3 separate regions of the Homo sapiens genome follow, and regions 1 and 2 are each linked to region 3. Evidence: promoter capture Hi-C in human tissues and cell types (Jung and others, 2019). All regions are on one chromosome and are shown on one strand. The core of a region is centred on a gene start or on the middle of the fragment in contact, and the rest is flanking DNA. Distances in the headings are between cores, read along the strand shown.

The links. The method cuts DNA at HindIII sites, captures the fragments that hold promoters and counts their contacts. A contact is called where the count stands out against the background at its distance.
Region 1: a fragment that was not itself captured here is called in contact with the fragment with the promoter of BIVM in region 3 in 3 of the 25 tissues and cell types used here (adrenal gland, bladder and spleen).
Region 2: a fragment that was not itself captured here is called in contact with the fragment with the promoter of BIVM in region 3 in 1 of the 25 tissues and cell types used here (H1 embryonic stem cells).

What each region holds. Positions count from the first base shown.
Region 1 is chr13:102,566,754-102,571,389 of GRCh38, reverse strand. No RefSeq gene overlaps it. Among named protein-coding and RNA genes, the nearest start is that of TPP2, 28 kb to the left of the region's middle. The HindIII fragment of the contact is 4,812 bases long and covers 1-4,111 here.
Region 2 is chr13:102,606,031-102,610,919 of GRCh38, reverse strand. All of the region lies in intron 2 of TPP2 (tripeptidyl peptidase 2), which reads right to left. Among named protein-coding and RNA genes, the nearest start is that of TPP2, 11 kb to the right of the region's middle. The HindIII fragment of the contact is 4,936 bases long and covers 787-4,889 here.
Region 3 is chr13:102,796,808-102,801,150 of GRCh38, reverse strand. It overlaps BIVM (basic, immunoglobulin-like variable motif containing), which reads right to left and starts at 2,032. Exons shown (of 11, transcript NM_017693.4): 1 at 1,630-2,032. It overlaps POGLUT2 (protein O-glucosyltransferase 2), which reads left to right and starts at 2,175. Exons shown (of 10, transcript NM_024089.3): 1 at 2,175-2,662; 2 at 4,142-4,343. The coding sequence starts at 2,481. RefSeq lists silencers at 406-835, 866-915, 1,476-1,745 and an enhancer at 1,806-2,025. The HindIII fragment of the contact is 13,413 bases long and covers 1-4,343 here.

The DNA of each region.
Region 1 (4,636 bases), core at 456-2,955, 230 kb after region 3:
ATCCTCAGATATTACCTTTGCCGATATTTTCTTCATTGTTTCCCAGAAATCAATGATGCAACTAATATGATCTGCAATTTTTTCACCAATAGAGGGAACCATCCACCTGCATTTCTTTGCTGTGTCCTACCAGAGCCCCCAGGGCCTCATGGCTTCTGTGGGTTGCTTTCCATCTCCTCCTCTGGCTCCTGAACGGGTCCTGTCCTCTGTGCTCCAGCTGAAGCAGTGCCGTTTGTCTTTTCCCCTGCTCTCGCCAATCCTGTCTCCAGCAGATCCCTTTCAGGATTTTTTTGTTGTTACCAGCCAGTGCCAGGAGTGAAGAATATAGATTTTGGTATCTGTGCCTGCACTCTAATTCCACTTCACAGCAAGCCATGGAGTTTGCCTTAACTTCACTTCTATATAAAGCTGCTTTAATTTTCTTAAAACTCACGACTTGCATTTAAATTGATTCCATCAGTCAACAAATATTCCCTATATACAGCATTTACAAGCTTCCTGCAAATGCAATCCAAATGAAGAGTTCAGGTTAAAAGGGGCTTTCAATACACCATCTCGGGAGACTCGGTGGTAGAATCTCATGGGATACAGGCATTCATATGCAGTCTGTAGTAATAGTTTCCTACTGTGGAGATTTTTCAACATCTTTAGATTGAAAAAAACCATCTTTATATATAAATGTCATAATTTTTTTGCATGACTTTCAAGGAAAAAGTAATGGATGATATTTCTGGAGTACTTAGCTCCAAGGCTTAATGGGGATGAAGGTACTGGAGGAGATATTTTCTTTGATACAGTAAATGAATTAGGAAAGTGTTGCTTATAGGGACATTTAAAAACATGGACATGCAGAAACTTGCAAAGCGGGTAAATACATGTGAGTTAGAGACTGAGAGATAGAGAGAAGAAATGAAAGCAGGAGATAGAGCAAGTGTATTTTCATCTTAGTATTTAGCAAGTATAATCAGGCAGTGCAGGTGACCACACTGAACATAAGGCTGTCATCTGGGTGCTTCAGGAACTTCGTGCTGAGCGAGAGGGAGGAGAACAGCTGTCAGGAACAGCTGGAACAAAAAGGTTCTTGAATCATGTGACTACCATGCAATGAGATTGGCACGTGTCACCGTTGTACATGATCCTTATTAGATAGACTGTCACCCACAGGTCCTGTGTCTTTTCCATCTTTCACAACTCCTCCTTGCTGAGGGATTGCCCTCCTTCTCCCCCACACTGGACCATTTAACTGAATTCCCCAGGATGCAGAGGTCCTTAGTTGAGAATTAAGGAGTGCAGCCATACTCAGAGACATGCCTTCCAGGGCAGATGTCAGCACAGTAAAGACTGTCTTCTTTGCTATTAGGCAAGGCATGGACTGTAGTAATAGCTGCTGCATGTTGTTAAAACATCTTTGATACAGTAGATTCTCAGATTTTCTGAGCAAACTGCCTTGGGCAGAATAGGTACTCCATAAATGTTTATGGTTAATGGTTTCTAGGACTTTCATTATCAATGTCATCTTTACAGCTCACCATTCTGGCTGGAGAAATGGAAATTCAGTGAAAACAAGCAAGCAGTCCTGTCTTTCCTAGTATGAATATACCTAAAGAAATGAGCTAATCATAAATTTCTTACCAGACTGCAATTTCCCAATTGTTTTTGCTGAATTCTGTTGAGCATACATATGTGATGACTGCTCAAACGATTCCCTGTGACACCCCCTCAAATGAGAAGGCATCTGTTTGGCCTCAGTTGGGAAAGCATGCTAAAAATGTCTCCACTTTGGCATTAAATCAGCTTATTGCAGCAGTGTACACTCCAAAGTAGATGTTTCTTGCTTTTTCTCTTTTAGAGAAGTGATTTCATTTATAATCTATTTCTGGATAATCCAGGGACTTTACACATTGCATTTGACCTAAATGCTAAGGTAAGGACAAGTTTCTGCTAGTAAGAAATGATAACAGTTTTTTTTTTTCTTAGACAGAGTCTCACTCTGTCGCCCAGGCTGAAGTGCAATGGCACAATCTCGGCTCACTGCAACCTCCGCCTCCCGGGCTCAAGCGATTCTCCTGCCTTAGCCTCCCAAGTAGCTGGGATTACAGGCACGTGCCACTGAACCCAGCTAATTTTTGTATTTTTAGTAGAGATGGAGTTTCACCATGTTGCCCAGGCTGGTCTTGAACTCCTGACCTCAGGTGATCCACCCGCCTCGGCCTCCTAAAGTGCTGGGATTACAGGTGTGAGTCACTGTGCCCGGCCAGTAACTGTTTTAATTATAATATAAGGTGATCATAAAGAAGAGTTTCTTAATGTTTGGAAAGACTCCTGAGATAAAAATCATAATGACACATGGATATATTAGTTTAGTAGAAAAATCACTTGTCATCCTAAGCCAAAAATTGCCATTTAACAAAATTTAAGCCAAAAGGAGGACTTTCATAGGTGATTTTAAACAATAAGATGAAAGTTTACTTCAAAACAATAATAATTTAAGCTTCTCATCCCTCCCTAAAGTAATGAAATCACTTATTTAGTTAGGATAGCTACAACTTCTATGATATGGGTGCATTAACAAGTTATGTTTTTTTTTAATTATTTTATTTTATTGAGATGGAGTCTCTCTCTGTTGCCCAGGCTGGAGTGTAGTGGCATGATCTTGGCTCACTGCAGCCTCCGCCTCCTGGGTTCAAGAGATTCTCATGCCTTAGCCTCCTGAGTAGCTGGGATTACAGGTGTGTGGCACCACGCCCAGCTAAATTTTGTATTTTTAGTAGAGACAGGATTTCACCATGTTGGCTAGGTTGGTCTCGAACTCCTGGCCTCAAGTGATCTACCTGCCTCGGCCTCCCAAAGTGCTGGGATTACAGGCATGAGCCACCACACCCAGCCACAAGTCACGTTTTAATGCTTTAGTGACACACTAGAATTCACTCCTTAATTGATAGCAGTGATGCTGGAGTTTAGTGATAGATGAGAGTGTATGCTGATGTGACAAGAAGAATGTGCATGAACCCGGTGACATTATAGGTATACATGGTGACTAAAGTATTAGCAGTGTCGGAATAATAGATATCTTCATAGTAGAAGGTCTTTCTCCAAGACAGCCCTGGTAGTCCTCCAATCTTGTTTGCCATCATGAGAATATTTATTACTTTTATACACTGACATAAAACTGAACTCACATTTCATAATTTGGTAGGTGATTTCATGCCTTTTTGTGTTTCTGCTGGATTTAGGGCAGTTACAATTCCCTCCACTGGGCAGCTGTGTTCTCTCAACACCAGGTGAGTGGTCATACTGATGAGGGTTGAGATGTGGGGACCATGGACAGCAGAAAGTAAGTGCTCAGGGCTAGAAAGCAGTCATCGGTGGGGGAGAGAGAGTGCCTCCCAGACAAGGGGAAGCAGCACTGGAGCCTGTGGAAGAAGCTGGGAGAGGGAGGTCAGTGTGCTGGAGGAGCTGCACTACGGCATGAGCAGCTATTGCGGCCAGTGGTGCCTCGGACCATTCCTGATTTCCCTGCCACCTTGGGGGTGTCACCATTATGGCAAGACACCTCAGGACATGCCTCTGTTTACTGAAGTGTGTGCAACAAGGCTGTGTTACTTAGGAGATTTATTAAAGATGCAGCGGCTTTCACCTGATTAGGTGAGAGCTGTCAGCCTCAGAGGGTATCCTCAGAGCTTAGGAAGTATTGACCTTCCAAAACTCTATCAGGGAAGAGATAGAGCAGAGTCAGAGAACTGATGGAACCAGCGAAGCAAGTATCACCAGGGCCTTTTGCCCAGGTCTTGACTCTATGTGTCCACTCAGTAGGTGGGCTTCCTTCCTCCTTATTTCATGCGCTTTCTGCACATGACGGGACACGTGTCCAGTGAATTCTTGACTTTTACATGTCATGGTTTCACTAATAAAAGACTGCCCTTTTCTTTCTCCATAATCAATTCAAAAGTCTTTTTTTTTAATTTTAATGCCAGAGAGGGGTTAATTTGGATTTCTGGGTCAGATGGTCAAAAATTCCAAGGAAATCCCATTGAAACAGCTTAGCTCAGGAAGTCAAGCCTGTATAAATCAACTGTGGCCAGAGATTTGGGGTCAGTGAGAGAATGGAGCTGCCATTCTAGCCATGGGGCTAGCAGGCCAGCTACTCGAAGGAAGGGGAAGCACTGGGAAGAGGCATCATAGATTTTTGGCTACAGGAATAGTATCAGTCCATATGGTCATGATGTAGAAAGTTAATTTTTGTTATTACTATTATTGTCATATGAATGATGCCAATTTTATTTTCATTAAATTCTCAGCCCCATCTTTTGTTTCTCTTGTTCTTACCAAAACTCAAAGTGCATAATAGGAGCTAAAAGGATATTTGCTAAATTGAATGAGATTTACTTTCATGTTAATTATGACATATACATATTGTTTACAATTTTCAGTTAAGAATTACAGAAATTAGTATTCTAAATTTTCTTTCAACATCTGTTACAAAAAGTCTCTTTTGTAAGGAGGCATATTCACTACCCTTTGTATTTGCTTTATGTATACCCGTGAAGTGTAGAGATTAAGGAGGACATGAGCCTACTTTCTTTTTGACATTTACAGTAAGGTGACCTACAGCTTGCAAAGTGGCTGTTTTTTGTGT
Region 2 (4,889 bases), core at 2,005-4,504, 190 kb after region 3:
TAGGAGGATGCAGGAAGTTTCTGATGTACGGCAATACTCTTTATCTTGATCTGGGTGGGTACAATGGTGTTAGCTATACTATTCATAAAACTGTATATATGTGTTTTATGTATTTTATGTATGTATATTTTGCAATAAAAGGTTTTAAAGTTCTATTCACTTTTGTACTTTTATCTGCTCATGGGAGTACCATAGGTCATAAGTAGCTTACCACTGGTTTCTCAAGGAAGCCTAGGAATATCATCCTTAGAGAATGAGGCTACTAAAGTGTTCAAAGCACCTAACTTAACAGTTGATCTTAAACTGACAGAAAAATAAAAGTCTGTTAGCAGTTTATGGGCTATGTGGAAAAAACAGACTATAAACATTTAATTCATTTCAAAGCATGACAGCTGGGCGCGGTGGCTGACATTTGTAATCCCAGCACTCTGGGAGGCCGAAGTGGGTGGATCACCTGATGTCAGGAGTTCGAGACCTGCCTAGCCAGCATGGTGAAACCCAGTCTCTACTAAAAATACAAAAAATTAGCCGGGCATGGTGGCGGGTGCCTATAATCCCAGCGACTTGGGAGGCTGAGGCAGGAAAATTGCTGGAACCCAGGAGACGGAGGTTGCAGTGAGCCAAGATCACACCACTGCACTCCAGCCTGGACGACAGAGCAAGACTCTGTCATAAATAAATAAATGAATAAATAAATAAATAAATAAATGCACGACTACATCAAAGAAACTTGAAGACTTCATTGTGCTGCTTTCTGAAAACTATGTACTAAAGAGTTGCAGAGATGCAACTAGTCAGAATCCCAGTGATTAATAATTCTTCCTTTTATTGACTACTGCAAAATATCTAAACACCTGCACATCCCTGAAAAAAATTAAACTGAACATGTGTGTGAGTACATGTTATGGATGGATGGAGAAGAGAGTTCTGACTAAGAAGACTGGCGGAAAATTTGTATAAGAGCACTCCCATTGCCCCATCCCACATCCTGCCCAAACTTCACCAACCAAGCTGAACCAGAGAAAAGCTGACATGTCAACAAAGCAAAGAACAGGTGATATGGTTTGGCTCTGTCTCTACCCAAATCGCATGTCGAAATATAACCCCTTCGTGTCAGGGGAGGGATGTGGTGGGAGGTGACTGGATCATGGGGGTGGATTTCCCCCTTGTTGTTCTTGTGATGATGAATTATTACAAGATCTAATGGTTTAAAAATGCATGGGGGCTGGGCACGGTGGCTCGCGCTTGTAATCCCAGCACTTTGGGAGGCTGAGGCAGGTAGATCACCTGAGGTCAGGAGTCTGAGACCAGCTTGGCCAACATGGTGAAACCCTGTCTCTACTAAAAATACAAAATTAGCCGGGTGTGGTGGCAGACACCTGTAATCCCAGCTACTCAGGAGGCTGAGGCAGGAGAATCGCTTGAACCCGGGTGGCAGATGTTGCAGTGAGTTGAGATCGCGCCATTGCACTCCAGTCTGGGCAACAAGACCAAAACTCCGTCTCAAAAAAAAAAAAAAAAAAAAAAGCATGGCACTTCTCCCTTTGCTGGCTCTCTTTCCTGCTCTATCATGATGAGAAGACATGTCTTGTTTCCCCTTCACCTTCCCCATGATTGTAAGTTTCCTGGGACTCCCAAGTCATGCTTCCTGTTAAGCCTGTAGGACTGTGAGTCGATTAAACCTCTTTTCTTCATAAATTCCCCAGTCTCATGTAGTTCTTCATAGCAATGTGAAAAGGAACTAATACAAAAAGGATGAGACATAAAAATGAGTCTGCATGACATCACTCCAGGCCCCTTGCATGGTGTGGTTACCTGAATACCTACGGCCAGACTTCTTGCTCACTCCTCCCCTAAACCCCAGGCCAAATGGGCTAAGGACTTCTTTAAGGTAACTGGGCATCCTGAGGGAAAAAAATATAGTGTATACTGATATTATGGGGGTTCCCCTAAATGTTATCATTACCCTATAGTGAAACCCACCAAAAGACCCTACATAAGCAGAGGAGCTTCCAATCACCTTTTCTTGTGCCTTGCTAAAATAAGACAGCTAGGGATGATTAGACACCTAAACAAAATATCTAACATAAAAAGCAGAGAACAAGGAAGAGGAGGCAGAGAAAGAGGAAGGAGAGGGTGAAGAAAAAGGGAGAAAGGAGAGGAGGAAGCAGAATAGGAGACTAAGAAAGGAGAACAGGAGGAAGGGGAGGGAAGAAACAATGAAATAGAAAAAAATTAAAATTTTATCTCAGAGATAAAATGTTGCATACATGATACAAAAATATGCTCCCAGTGAACATGAAGGGGCTTTTGCAATTAAAAATAGGCAAAATTTTAAAAAATTCACACAAGGGTTACAATGTTGAGAAAATGCTGGAAATCTCTCAGGAAGGAAAAAGATTAAGGCAATGAAGAAAAGGTGGAAAAAAATTTAAAAATTGGAGGATCAAGTCAAGAGGTCCAATGTTCAATTAACAGGAGTTCCAGAAAAAAACAGCAAAACAACGGAGAGGAAGTTACCTAAGAGAAAATGCAAAAAAAATTCTTGGAAATAAAGGACCTGAGAATTAAACTCTCTTCTTCCACATATTAATTCTACAAGTAAAGATTAAGACTAGAAAAAAAAATCAAGAAATAAAAAATATTAGCATGTTATTTTAAACTGAAGATAATTTAATGTATTAATGTACTGTTAAAGTAGAAAACAGTAGGGGAGAAGTGGGACAGGATTTAACTCTTTTTGTTAGAAGCCTTGTAAAAATATTTGTCTTTTTAAACTATTAAGACATACTGAACACAATTAAAAATTAAGTTTAAAAACCCACAATGAGGGGCTGAGAATACTTAATGTTAGAGCTAAAGAAATACGTCACCAAGCTGAGAAAAGACAAACCTTATAATTTTTTTGACTTTATTTAATAGCAATACATATGGTACACATATAATTCTACCTTTGAACACTAGTGATATTATTAGTTCATGTGGTTTATCTAAAGCCGGGATTACTGCAGCTATTTAAAAATAAATGAGGCCAGGCATGGTGGCTCATGCCTATAATACCAGCACTTTGGGAGGTCGAGGTGGGTGGATCACTTGAGGTCAGGAGTTTGAGACCAGCCTGGCCAACATGGCAAAATTCCATCTCTACTAAAAACACACAAAAAAATTAGCCAAGTGTCATGGCGCATGCCTGTAATCCCAGCTACTCGGGAGGCTGAGGCAGAAGAATCACTTGAATACAGGAAGCAGAGGTCGAGGTGAGCCGAGATTGTGCCATTGTACTTCAACCTGGGCGACAGAGTAAGACTCCATCTCAAAATTAATATAAATAAATAAATGCTCGAGTAATACTTTATATGGCTCTAAGCCTGCAAGACTTACTAGGAATTCTCTCTAGCTTCTCAGAGTACCATAGCTCACAGGAATCCCAAGTTTCCCTTTGAAACATATTCTAATAACAAGGTTGACTTGGGGGAAGACAGGCCAAACTCTAGAGTAATTCAGAAGGCTGAGCATTTCTAACCCGAAAATCTGAAATGCTCCATTGACCATTTCCTTTGAGTGTCATGTTGGCACTCAGAAAGTTCTGGATTTTGGAGCATTTCGGATTTTGGATTAGGGAGGCTCAACTGGTATATTCAATGCAAATATTCCAAAATCTGAAACCTAAAACACTTCTGGTCCCCAGCGTTTCAGATAAGGGATTCTCAACCCGCACCGTAAACTGGATGACTCTGACAATTGAAACTTATTTTTTCATAGTTCTAGGGGCTGGAAGCTCAGCATCAGGGTGCCAGCATGGTTGAGCATAGGTGAAAGCCCTCTTCCTGGCTTACAGAGGCCACCTTCTTGCTGTGTCCTCATATGCCCTAGAAAGAGCTTGCTCTAGAGAGAGCTCTCTGATGTCTCTTCTTATAAGGGTACTAATCCTATCCTGAGGGGACACATACTCATAACCTCATCTAACCCTAAATACCTCCCAAAGGCCCAACTTTCAAATACCAACACAAAGAGGGATAGGGCTTCAATGTATGAATTTTGGCAGGGGGTGGGGACACAGATAATCAGTTCCTAACACACAGAAAAGGAAGTAGAACCTGGATTATTAATGGCTGCTATCTGCCCATGACAGGCAGATTTCTAAGAAGACCCACGTCCCTCCCCTAAGTGAAGGCAGGACCCGTGAATATAATGAGATGTCACTCCCATGATTGCGTTATGGTACGTAAAGAAGGTGTAGGGATTTTGCAGACGCAATTAAGGACTCTGAGCAAATCAAAAGTGACATGATTCTCAGCGGGCCTGAACTAATCAGGTGAGTTCTTTAAAAGAAAGACTGGGGTCATCACCAAGGTCAGAGATTCTCTTACTGGCCTTGAAGAAGCAAGCTATCATGAGTTTTACAGCTGCAATGAAATGAATTTTTCCAACAATCATGTAAACTTGGAAAAGAAGCCTGAGCCTCAGCTGAGCCTTTAATCTTGACTGCAGTCTTGTGAGACCCTGAGCAGAGACCCACAAAAAGCCATGCCTGGACTCCTACCCCATGGAATCAGTGATATAATAAATACAGGAATACACAAGGTTTTAGGCGGCTAAGTCTGTGGTGCTTTATTACACGGCACAGAAAGCCAATATGCTGCCACAACAAGCTTACTTAAAAGACAAGACCTAAGAACAATTCAGATAGATGGCAAAAGGTGGGAAAAGCTAACTAAATAACCATAATTTTATGTTCCAAACTAATGCTGCTTAAGAGTACAGGATCACAAATTCTTGCCATCCATCCTTCATGCTCCTTAGCTCATGAGCTCCTCTGTGCTTGCTTTATAATTATTTTTTACGTTTAGCTTACCCAGGCCTTTCTACCAAGGACATAGAATAAGACA
Region 3 (4,343 bases), core at 783-3,282:
CAAAGCAAAAATTTATAAAATGGCAAGTTTAAAAAGCACCGCCAGAGTCATGATTGTTCAAAGTCACTGAACGAAGTGTTCTGTAAAATAAACGTCCATTTGTAAAGCCAATCTTCATCGCCTAGGTTGTAGTCTTTTCAGGTTATATTTTGTCTGTATTCTCAAGTATCAAGTTTATGAGAGAACCAAACATCTCTAAAAACCTCTTCAGTAAAGCCTTTTCGTATAACAAAATACCCTGATCGATATCCTGTATAGAAGGCAACTGAGGAGCAGGGGCATTCCGGTGACCTCGTAAGGGTCGAATATGCGCGGGAGGGCGAAACCAGAGGCGCATAGCCCCCGGCCGAGCTAATGCCACCCTTCCCACCCGGTGTCCTCCCGCGCCCTCCAGGCCCCTTCCTCCCCTTCAGACCTGCGGGTCCCCAGAGCCGAGGCGCCAGCCTGTCAAAAGATACCGGGAGTCCTCCGCGCCTGGCGCCAGCCTCCAGCCCGCGCCCCTGGGGAGGCCGGGAGCGTTTCCACCACCGTCCTCTGACAAGCTCGCCGCTCGGCCGGGCTCCGAGGCCGCCGGGACGGAGTAGACAGTCGCGCAGGCCAAGCCCCGCCGCGCAGAACCAGTGCGCGCGGAGGCGACGCGGGCAGAGAGGAAGGAGCGCGGCTGCGCTCCCTGCCCGTGGCCAACCCAGCCCGCGCCTCCGCGCGTGTCGCGGGCACCCCGAGTCCCCAGCCCGCAGAGCCCAAGGGCCGCCGAGGCCTCCTCGCCCCTACTCCCTCCTCTACCTTCCCTCACCGGCCGGAAGACGAGGCTCTCCGCCAGGGGGAGCGCGCCGAGGCCCGGGGGTGACCGCCTCGAACATGCTTGCCCCGGGCCCCGGGGACGCTGTTGGTGTTAAAGGGGGCCCACGGGCAATTGCTGCATCCGGGCTAAGAGCTGGGGCTCCGATTCGACTGTTTGAGTAAACGAGTCGGTATCATTAATAATGACAATTGCACAAAAGAAAATAGGAAAGAAACCCCCTTTCCTGGCGCCGAACCAGGCCCGCCTTGGCTCGGAGCCACCGGCTCTTCTGGGTTTTCGGGGCAGCTGGCAAGAGGGAGGCAGGCAGAGGAGGCGGCTCCGGGTCCGACTGCCAAGCTGACCAGGGCGGTGAGCCCGTGACTCCTGGCGGCGGCCCAGACCCGGGTGCTGGCGTGCAGGGGAAGGCGACGGCCGCTGCGCGCTGGTTCCCGGACCCTGCCCAGCGTGGCGTGGAGACCGACGGCCGCACAGGGGTCACCGGTATCCACATGGACACCTCCTAATCGAGCTTTGTTCACCAGAGGGCTAGGCCCTTCTTTCCCTGGCGCTTCTCTTCCCCCCGCGACACAGCTCTTCCCCCTACTCCTTCCCGGGAGAGCGCGCACCCATGCAGTGGCCTCCATCTGGACGCCACGGGGCTCGGAGAGGCGATGACCCCTGGCAGCCCAGGCCGGTATCGAATTAAGTAAAAATTTTGAATGCCCAGGTGGCTGCGCGTAGAGCGGCAGCAGGCCGGGCTGGCGGCGCCCAGGTGCCCAGCGGAGGGCCAGGCGCTCAGAGCGCACAGCCGGCCGCCACCTCGGCCCCTGCCCCCCGCCCCGGGGTACCTCTGGCCTGTCGGGTGGGGTCGGGTCGCTGCGGCCGCGGCGGAACCCGGCTCCGGACCTGGATCACAGCATCCAGCGCGCGGCCGGCGAGGCGCCTCCTGTTACCCTGGGGCCGGCGTCCCTCGTCCCATCGGAGCGAGCGAGGATGCTGCGGTGCCCGGCGACAGGTCGTCGGATAGCATTGACAGCACCTTCCTTTCAAGGTGCTTTATGCCTGCCCTCTCCACGTGCGGAGGGCAGGGTGACCAACGCAAAAACCTGAGCTGCGCCTCCAGACCCGTGCGCCCCTTTGATGGGCATCTGTGGTGTTTATCTGTCCCCCGAAAGCGGTGACCGAGAAGTAAATAAATGGGCGAGAGGTGGTAAAATCCTGGCAGTATTTCCGCTCGTCCTGTCGCGAACTACATATCCCAGGGAGCCCGGGGCGCCGGGACGCGTGTCCACCCCGCCATCCACTTGGAGAAGGCGTTACTGAGCCTGGCCCGACGCACGGGCCAATCCCCTCGCCCTACACCTTGGCTGGAACCTGAGACGGATTCGCTCCCAAATGATGCTCCAGTGGCAGGAGCAACTCAAGTTCATCATTGTCCTGAGAGAGAGGAGCAGCGCGGTTCTCGGCCGGGACAGCAGAACGCCAGGGGACCCTCACCTGGGCGCGCCGGGGCACGGGCTTTGATTGTCCTGGGGTCGCGGAGACCCGCGCGCCTGCCCTGCACGCCGGGCGGCAACCTTTGCAGTCGCGTTGGCTGCTGCGATCGGCCGGCGGGTCCCTGCCGAAGGCTCGGCTGCTTCTGTCCACCTCTTACACTTCTTCATTTATCGGTGGATCATTTCGAGAGTCCGTCTTGTAAATGTTTGGCACTTTGCTACTTTATTGCTTCTTTCTGGCGACAGTTCCAGCACTCGCCGAGACCGGCGGAGAAAGGCAGCTGAGCCCGGAGAAGAGCGAAATATGGGGACCCGGGCTAAAAGCAGACGTCGTCCTTCCCGCCCGCTATTTCTATATTCAGGCAGTGGATACATCAGGGAATAAGTAAGTCGAGAAACGGCTCCTTACCTATTTTGGATGGCGGTTAAATCTGTTTCTCCCTTTAAGATTTTTCTTTCCAAGAACTCGTTTCTCCACAGCAGTTTATATTCCAGGATATTTGGTTACCCATTTTTCTCTGTAGCTGTAGAAATTGTTCCGAATTATAATATATGCAATATAATGTATTGTATATAACATATAAAATAATCTCCTAGCAATTTTGATTCAGATTCCCACATTATCAGGGCAAGACAAAGTCCCTCCACTTTGCTGGAAATACTGTTTCTAACTACTTTTCGCATAAGCTATTATAAGGGATTTAAACCTAGTTGTTAGAGACTTGATGGGCTTCATCTTTCTCTGGTGCGGCCCTCAATTTTCAAGGAGACATCTGCAGGTAAGCATGTTTTGAAACTGAAAAAGAAAAATGAAGTACTATTTGAAACTTCAGAGTTCGGAAGGAAAGTATCGAAGTATTAATCTCCTATATGATTGTAACAAATATTTTGTTCCAATGAATTTAATACTTTAACATCATACTTAAAACTTATTTTTATAATTCCTATACTTCTGAAATGATTGTCTCTATTATTGGTGGATGCTGACTGTGTGTATTTCATACAGAAAAAAATACTGGAATAAAAGGTTGTCAAGTAAAAGGCAGGTTGTAAATTTTGTTATTTGGCAAAAGATGATACACTACCTACTACTTTGCTTTTGCCCATGGCTGAGCGTGAGTTTTTTTTTTTTAAGACAGGGTTTCACTTCCTAGCCTAGTCTGGAGTGCAGTGGTGCAATCACAGCTCACTGTACCCTCAACCTCCCAGGCTGAAGCTATCCTCCCACCTCAGCCTCCCTAGTAGTTGGGACTACAGGCGTGTGCCACCTCGCCTGGCTATTTGTTTTTTATTATTATTATTATTATTTGTAGAGACAGGATCTCACCTTGTTGCCCAGGCTGATCTCGAACTCCTGGCCTCAAGCAGTCTTCCCTCCTTGGCCTCCCAAGATGTTGAGATAGTAGGCATGGGCCACAGTGCCAGGCCTGAGCGTGATTTATAATACTGATATTGTAAAGATTCATTGGCAGAGATTTTTCAAAATAAGATCATTATCTTTGGGAGCATCATTTGATCACAAATATCCAGATGTGATAGCATGAAATAAGTTAGTAAGAATATTTTTCCATATGGAATGCATGAGTATGTTCTGTGCTTATATAGATTAATAGTCTTAACATACTCCATTGTGACTGTTTAATGAAACTGTTTCATGTTATCTTGGCCATTGTCATCCTCATTTTTTTAAATCTCTGATCCATCATATTCATTCTGGTACTAAAAGCATAAGAGAAGAAGAAGCAATCATATGTTAGAGGAAGAATGTGGAGGAGAATAATCAAGTTTCCAGACTGAAGAGCATAACCTTTGTGTGTTTGTTCGTTAAAATCTGTTTATCTCCCCCATTGCCTTTTCATCACAGATTCACATCTTCTCCAGGCGAAAAGGTCTTCCAGGTGAAAGTCTCAGCACCAGAGGAGCAATTCACTAGAGTTGGAGTCCAGGTTTTAGACCGAAAAGATGGGTCCTTCATAGTAAGATACAGAATGTATGCAAGCTACAAAAATCTGAAGGTGGAAATTAAATTCCAAGGGCAACATGTGGCCAAATCCCCATATATTTTA